Regions from separate parts of the Homo sapiens genome. Here region 1 is linked to region 2. Evidence: promoter capture Hi-C in human tissues and cell types (Jung and others, 2019). All regions are on one chromosome and are shown on one strand. The core of a region is centred on a gene start or on the middle of the fragment in contact, and the rest is flanking DNA. Distances in the headings are between cores, read along the strand shown. Region 1 overlaps NSD3 (nuclear receptor binding SET domain protein 3). Region 2 holds the start of FGFR1 (fibroblast growth factor receptor 1).

Region 1 (4,079 bases), core at 978-3,477, 180 kb after region 2:
TGGGTTCAAGCGATTCTGTTGCCTCAGCCTCCCAAGTAGCTGGGATTACAGATGCATGCCATGACGCCTGGCTAATGTTTGTATTTTTTTTTGAGACAGAGTCTCGCTCTGTCGCCCAGGCTGGAGTGCAGTGGCGCGATCTTGGCTCACTGCAACCTCCGCCTCCCGGGTTCAAGTGATTCTCCTGCCTCAGCCTCCCAAGTAGCTGGGATTACAGATGCATGCCATGATGCCTGGCTAATCTTTGTTTTTTTTGTTTGTTTGTTTGTTTTTTTGAGACAGAGTCTCACACTGTTGCCCAGGCTGGAGTACAGTGGCACGATCTTGGCTCACTGCAAGCTCTGCCTCCCGGGTTCACGCCATTCTCCTGCCGCAGCCTCCCAAGTAGCTGAGACTCCAGGCACCCGACACCACACCTGGCTAATTTTTTGTATTTTTTTTTTTTAGTAGAGATGGGGTTTCACCATGTTGGCCAGGATGGTCTCGATCTCCTGACCTCGTGATACACCCGCCTTGGCCTCCCAAAGTGCTGGGATTACAGGCGTGAGACACCGTGCCTGGCCTAATCTTTGTATTTTTATTAGAGACGGGGTTTCACCATGTTGGCCAGGCTGGTCTTGAACTCCTGACTTCAAGTGATCTGCCCGCCACAACCTCCCCAAGTGCTGGGATTACAGGCCTGAGCCACCACACCTGGCCAATACAGTATGTTTTTAATACCTGGGAAGAAATACATCTAATGTTAATAGTGTCAAGGATGAGATTACAAGAAGAGGCATTTTCACTTTTCTACTATACATTTCTGCATTGTTTTAATTTTTAGAAGAAGTGCATACTGCTTTCATAATTGAAAAATATGTATCTTTCTGGCATGGAGAAGGGTGCACAGTTTGAAAATTAATACATTTAAGACATTTCTAGATAAGAAATATCTAAAACAATGTAAGAAGCCTTCAGATCTTCAAATAAACTTCAATTTTTTTAAAGTTATGGATATAAAAATGTCTTTGATTTATTTTAACACTTAAATTTTAATTATATTACATTTTAAAGAAACCCAAAACAGTGCTCCAATTAAATTCACAGTCCAGTGAGATCTTATATCTAGGTCAGATTCTTCTTGTATGTTTTGGAAAGACTTCCATCCGTGAACTAATTCTTAATGTATTTCTTTCCAGTCAGGCCCAGTGGGGCTGCATGAAGCTGTTTATTTTCAATAACTAGTTATTCCAATGTGTTGCTTCTTGGGGGAAAATATGAGGACCTGGAACAAACCCAGGCAGAACATGTGACTCTTCCTAACTGACGTTAGTGAAGGCAGTAACTGTATACATATTTAATTACCTTAAAGTTGTTTAGAAATAAATAGAGCCTGCTTTGAGAACGAACCAAGTATCAATCACAGAAAATATTGGTTTTTGTTTTGTTTACAATTTGCGCATGGATTCTTACCCATGTTTTCAATTCTTAGATGAACAGCAGAGTACCTTTCAGGTGACACTTTATCAAGTTCTGCAATATAAATCTGGGAGTGCAATCATGTCATCATTTATCTTCTCAATAATACAGTTATGTGTTAAAAATTGTTTTATTAAGCATATGTAAAATAAGAGATTCAAAAAATTTAAGTCTATGTATATTTACTACAAAAGCCCATGAGGTTGGCCTCATTTTCTGACTGTTAGCTTCATCATTCAATTCTTAACTTGTCTGCTTGCTAGAAACTGTCAGATTTCCTCACAGATGGTTTCATTTAGTGACTGCTGTAGTATTCAATTATCATAGCCTGAAACAGTTATATTTTCATTCTGTCCACTATTCCATGTTTAATTATGATCTAAGATGAATTAGATTCTGAAATACAAAGTGATATAAAACCTAGTACATTTGACCAAGAGGTGTTTGCCCAGGTTGACTCGAGACTAAATGCTGATTTGAATGGGAGTGGCCATTCTTTATGATAGCATCAGTTTATTCTCAAAATGATTCCATTGACTACTAGAAATAAACTGTTATACCTTGAAAGATAATCTCAGTATTAAGTTTGGGGGGAAACATGACTTTTCTAGGATTGAAATTAGGTTTGGAATATCATTGGGTAGTAGGTTCAGTATTATTACATTTTAGAACATTTTCATGATATATATTTTATAAATATGAAATATTTTTTAAAAGAAAGTAGATCAGGTGTTTAGGGCCTAATTTGTTTAGTCTGTGTTCACTATTTCATTAATTACTTTTTATAATGATGTGTGGTATTTTATGTTCTTAGAATCTGAATGAAAATTGCAAAATACAAAAACTTTTTTCCCTTCTGCCAATCTTGTAAATAGTGGTTTTTTGTTTCGTTTTTGCCCTCTTGATCTAAAATTGCTTTTGTTTTCAGATGGTGGCCAGCAGAGATCTGCAACCCCAGGTCTGTGCCACTGAACATCCAGGGCCTTAAACATGACTTGGGGGACTTCCCTGTATTCTTCTTTGGTTCTCATGACTACTACTGGGTACACCAGGGCAGAGTGTTCCCTTATGTTGAAGGAGACAAAAGCTTTGCTGAAGGGCAGACTAGTATTAACAAGACCTTCAAAAAGGGTAAGCTGGATGATGTTTACAGTGACTCAAAACTACAACTCCGGTGTCAGTTTCTCAACATCTCCTCACCTCCCTAATATTTCTGGTATTAGAGAATTTTCACTAGACATTATGATCCTGTGTCCATAAGCTTCCAGTCACATTAGAACCAGGTTTAAAATACATTTCAATATTGTAGACTGTGCTGTGTATTTGAAAGGAATTTCTTCAGTGTCTTTCTATAAACACAGATTATTCTAGGAATAGTCTTTTTTTTTTTTTTAGACAGGGTCTCACTCTTGCCCAGGCTAGAATGCAGTGGCATGATCACAGCTCACTGCAGCCTTGAACTCCAGGGCTCAAGTGATCCTCTTGCCTCAGCCTCCCGAGTAGCTGGGGCTACAGGTGCCCACTATCATGCCCAGCTAATTTTTGTACTTTTTATAGAGATAGGGTTTCACCATGTTGCCCAGGCTGGTCTTGAACTCCTGGGTTCAAGCGATCTGCCCACCTCAGCCTTCCAAAGTGTTGGGATTATAGCTCTGAGCCACCAAGCCCAGCCTGAGAATAGTCTTTTTAATCAAGTGAAGTTCCTTTGCAACAGAAGAGTAGTAAAGACTTGCCATGAAAAGCCTTACAACTGCTTTTGCAATGAGTTGCCAGCAAGTTTGGCTTTCTGGTAAGGGTAAAATGAATTTAAATCTATTACAAGGCAAAAAGCTGCTCTTAGGGTCACTTGGAGACTTCTGATCATTGAAGTAGAGCCTCTTCCCTGTGGCTACAGCATGCACAGAGCATAGTGTTCAGTGAGTTATATCCTATTTCTTTGTTACCCCATCCTGGTGGTAAACAGTAACTTCCAGAAAATAATTCTAAAAAGAAAAATCTCAGGCCAGATGCAAAGCATTGGGAAGGCAGCGTAAAACTACTATCCCATCAATTTTCCTTTGGTTTTTGGTATTTACATACTTTGTATCATCTTATTGGCAGCACTGGAAGAAGCTGCAAAACGTTTCCAGGAATTGAAAGCACAAAGAGAAAGTAAAGAAGCCCTAGAGATTGAAAAAAACTCAAGAAAACCCCCTCCCTACAAACACATCAAAGTAAGTCTTTATCTCTGGCCTGGGATTGCCAAATAAAATAAGAAACAAAGTAAGTCTTTACTATGAAAGCATTGTTATTTAATAGATGAGACGAAATGCATTACTCTTTAGTAGTTAAAGACCCTCTTTGACTTGTGCAAACTTTTGCTAATTATCACAGTCTTCTGTAAAACAGAGCTTCTGTTGGAAGCATCAAATGGGAGCCATAGTTATTGTGCTGTGAAAATTAGGTCTTTGATAAGTCCTCTCATACCTAGTAGCAACATGTCTTATGTGAAATCCTGTTCTTGTTCTACCAGGTTATCCCGCCACCAAATGAGAATATAGGTGTTTACTCCCTTTATTTCAGAGAACCCACAAACAAGCGTATTTTCTCTTGTTTTCAGTTATGAAATTTCCATCTAGTGA
Region 2 (3,488 bases), core at 839-3,338:
CCCTATAAACAGTGGCTGAAGTTCATTTATTCAACAAAGATATGAGTTCTTGTTTCTCATTTTTTGTTTTGTATTATTTTGTTTTGAGACAGGGTCTTACTCTGTCGCCCAGGCTGGAGTGTAGTGGCTGGATCATAGCTCACTGCAGCCTCAAACTCCTGGGCTCAAGCCATCCTCCTTCTTCAGCCTCCACCTCCAGCTAATTTTTAAAAATATTTTGTAGAGACAAGGGCTCACTTTGTTTCCCAGGCTGGTCTTGAACTTCTGGCTTCAAGTGATCCTCCCGCTTCGGCCACCCAAAGTGCTGGGATTACAGGCGTGAGCTGTAATTTAGTTGTTTATTTACTCATTTGTTCAACAAATACTTATTGAATATTTGCTCTTTGGCCAGTCAAGGGATTTCATGAGTGTCTACTATGTGAATAACACTGTGTTGGCCACTAGTCTGTCACCTACTGGTGGATTAGAAAAATAGCGCGAGGACCATTTTTTCTTTTCTTTTCTTTTTTTTTTTGAGACGGAGTCTTGCTCTGTTGCCAGGCTGGAGTGCAGTGGCACAATCTCGGCTCACTGCAACCTCCGCCTCCCGGGTTCAAGCGATTCCTCTGCCGCAGCCTCCCCAGTAGCTGGGATTACAGGCAAGCGCCACCATGCCTGGCTAATTTTTTTGTATTTTAGTAGAGACGGGGTTTCACCTTGTTGGCAAGGATAGTCTCGATCTCCCGACCTCGTGATCCACCCGCCTCGGCCTCCCAAAGTGCTGGGATTACAGGCATAAGCCACCGCACCCGGCCAACTCTTTTCTTAAATTAGCCAGGGAGGCGTGGGTGGGTTGGGTGAGGAGTTGGGTGGGGGGATCTCATTCAGTATTCAAACTTCTACAAGTTTCGGGGTTGAGGTGGGTGATGGTAAGGGAACAGGCCCTGCCACTACCTTTCATAGTGACTTCCATTTGTGTAATATTTTTGGTCCACTGAGAGCTATTATTTTATTTGATTCTTATGACCATCTTGTGAAGGAGTATCAACAGATACCCCGTTTTGATTTTATCAGATGCATGATTTGTCCTACATCAAACTTCATAAATGATGGACAGAATGGAGGAATCCTTCAGACCAAGTGCTGCCTACTTCCCACCCCAATGGTGGCCTCAGCCTGGGCTCACATCACACGCCCCAAGGAGCCTTGGAAAAAATAAAGGCTCTTGGCTCCTTCCTGGGACAGCGTGATTCCTCATGTCTGAGCAGGCCCATGAACTTGTATTTTTCAGACGTTCCCTAGGACCCGTGTCCATCTGGATTAGGGAACCACTACATTATACCACTTCGCGGGAAGACTCAGGGGGAAGCATTTTAGCCACTTTCCTGTGTTCCACAGTACTGGAGGGTGTTCTGAGTGGGCTGTGATTAATTTCCAAACCAACCACACGTCTCCCCTCAACTCCCACTGCTTACTCTTTGCTTCCTAGACATTCACTGCAGGCTGGAGACTTCTGGAAGCCAACAGCATCGCTGTAGAATTTACAGGGTCCAGTTCCCGGTGGACCACAAAACCTAAATTATGTGGCTGGGGAAAGCTGAAATCCAAGGGAAGGGTTTGAGGAGGGGCTGACCTTATAATAAAACCGGCTTGTATTTACTAAGTGTTAACTATGCGCTAGGCCCTCGTTGACGCCTCAACTCTATGTGAAAAGCACTATTATCCCCCATTTACAGATGGGAAAACAGAGATTTAGAGCGCGAAAATCATTTCCCCAAGGCGCACAGACTCCAAAGCCCACGCTACCAGGTACAACCTCAAGGCTGCGGCGTCTCTTCACCTGCCCCCTAGCCCCCAAACCGCTGCTATGTCTAGGGCCTGACATTCCGGCGCCCTCTGGGACGTGCTCAGATGCAGGGGCGCAAACGCCAAAGGAGACCAGGCTGTAGGAAGAGAAGGGCAGAGCGCCGGACAGCTCGGCCCGCTCCCCGTCCTTTGGGGCCGCGGCTGGGGAACTACAAGGCCCAGCAGGCAGCTGCAGGGGGCGGAGGCGGAGGAGGGACCAGCGCGGGTGGGAGTGAGAGAGCGAGCCCTCGCGCCCCGCCGGCGCATAGCGCTCGGAGCGCTCTTGCGGCCACAGGCGCGGCGTCCTCGGCGGCGGGCGGCAGCTAGCGGGAGCCGGGACGCCGGTGCAGCCGCAGCGCGCGGAGGAACCCGGGTGTGCCGGGAGCTGGGCGGCCACGTCCGGACGGGACCGAGACCCCTCGTAGCGCATTGCGGCGACCTCGCCTTCCCCGGCCGCGAGCGCGCCGCTGCTTGAAAAGCCGCGGAACCCAAGGACTTTTCTCCGGTCCGAGCTCGGGGCGCCCCGCAGGGCGCACGGTACCCGTGCTGCAGTCGGGCACGCCGCGGCGCCGGGGCCTCCGCAGGGCGATGGAGCCCGGTCTGCAAGGAAAGTGAGGCGCCGCCGCTGCGTTCTGGAGGAGGGGGGCACAAGGTCTGGAGACCCCGGGTGGCGGACGGGAGCCCTCCCCCCGCCCCGCCTCCGGGGCACCAGCTCCGGCTCCATTGTTCCCGCCCGGGCTGGAGGCGCCGAGCACCGAGCGCCGCCGGGAGTCGAGCGCCGGCCGCGGAGCTCTTGCGACCCCGCCAGGACCCGAACAGAGCCCGGGGGCGGCGGGCCGGAGCCGGGGACGCGGGCACACGCCCGCTCGCACAAGCCACGGCGGACTCTCCCGAGGCGGAACCTCCACGCCGAGCGAGGTAAGAGCCGCGGCGCCCCCGGATCTGGGGCGGGCTTGGCGTCCCGAGCGGCCCCCGGCGCCGGAGCCTCCCGGCTGCGCGCTTTGCCCGCCGCAGCCCAGCCGGGGCCGGCGCCTCCCTCCGCTCGCCGCCCGCCCCTTTCACCTCCTGGCTCCCTCCCGGGCGATCCGCGCCCCTTGGGTCTCCCCTCCCTTCCCTCCGTCCGCGTCTCCTGCGCCCCCTCCCTGCGCTCGTCCCGCCGCTCTTCCCGCCGCCCAACTTTTCCTCCAACTCGCGCTCGGGAGCTGGCGAGGCGGCGGCGGCTCCTCAGTGAGTCCCGGGAGGGACAGGCCCGGGGCGAAGGCGGCGAGGCCCGCGGTTTCCTGGACTGGGGAGGAGGGCGGGAGTGGGCGGCGAGGTGGGATGCGTTGTGTGTGTTATGTGTGTGTGTTGCATTCCACTCCATGTCTTTTTGGTCCCCTTTTGGGGATTCACCCCCAATTCAGCAGGTAGCTTTGGGCTCAACGCTAAAAATCCGGGGCATTCCTAAGTCCTTTTCCACCCCCGGGAAAGCCTGGGGTGCGGGTTGGGGTCGGATGGGGTGGGAGATGAACTGCGGAGGACGTGGAGGGCTAGGTTAGCTTCTCTTGGAATAGGTTTTAAGGAGGTGTCGTCACCAAATGGCTGAATCTGCTTGAGCTGAGAGCGAAAAACGACTCCCCTTTCCAGAAGGGGTGATCTTATGACTTGGACGGTCTCTGAAAGGG

The links. Contacts are between HindIII fragments. The study calls those that stand out against the background at their distance.
Region 1: a fragment that was not itself captured here is called in contact with the fragment with the promoter of FGFR1 in region 2 in 2 of the 25 tissues and cell types used here (aorta and pancreas).

What each region holds. Positions count from the first base shown.
Region 1 is chr8:38,288,985-38,293,063 of GRCh38, reverse strand. It overlaps NSD3 (nuclear receptor binding SET domain protein 3), which reads left to right. Exons shown (of 24, transcript NM_023034.2): 17 at 2,387-2,589; 18 at 3,559-3,671. Among named protein-coding and RNA genes, the nearest start is that of PLPP5, 22 kb to the right of the region's middle. The HindIII fragment of the contact is 6,513 bases long and covers 1-4,079 here.
Region 2 is chr8:38,467,235-38,470,722 of GRCh38, reverse strand. It overlaps FGFR1 (fibroblast growth factor receptor 1), which reads left to right and starts at 2,088. Exons shown (of 18, transcript NM_023110.3): 1 at 2,088-2,742. RefSeq lists enhancers at 1,756-1,925, 1,362-2,348 and silencers at 2,206-2,275, 2,546-2,675, 2,686-2,805. The HindIII fragment of the contact is 23,892 bases long and covers 1-3,488 here.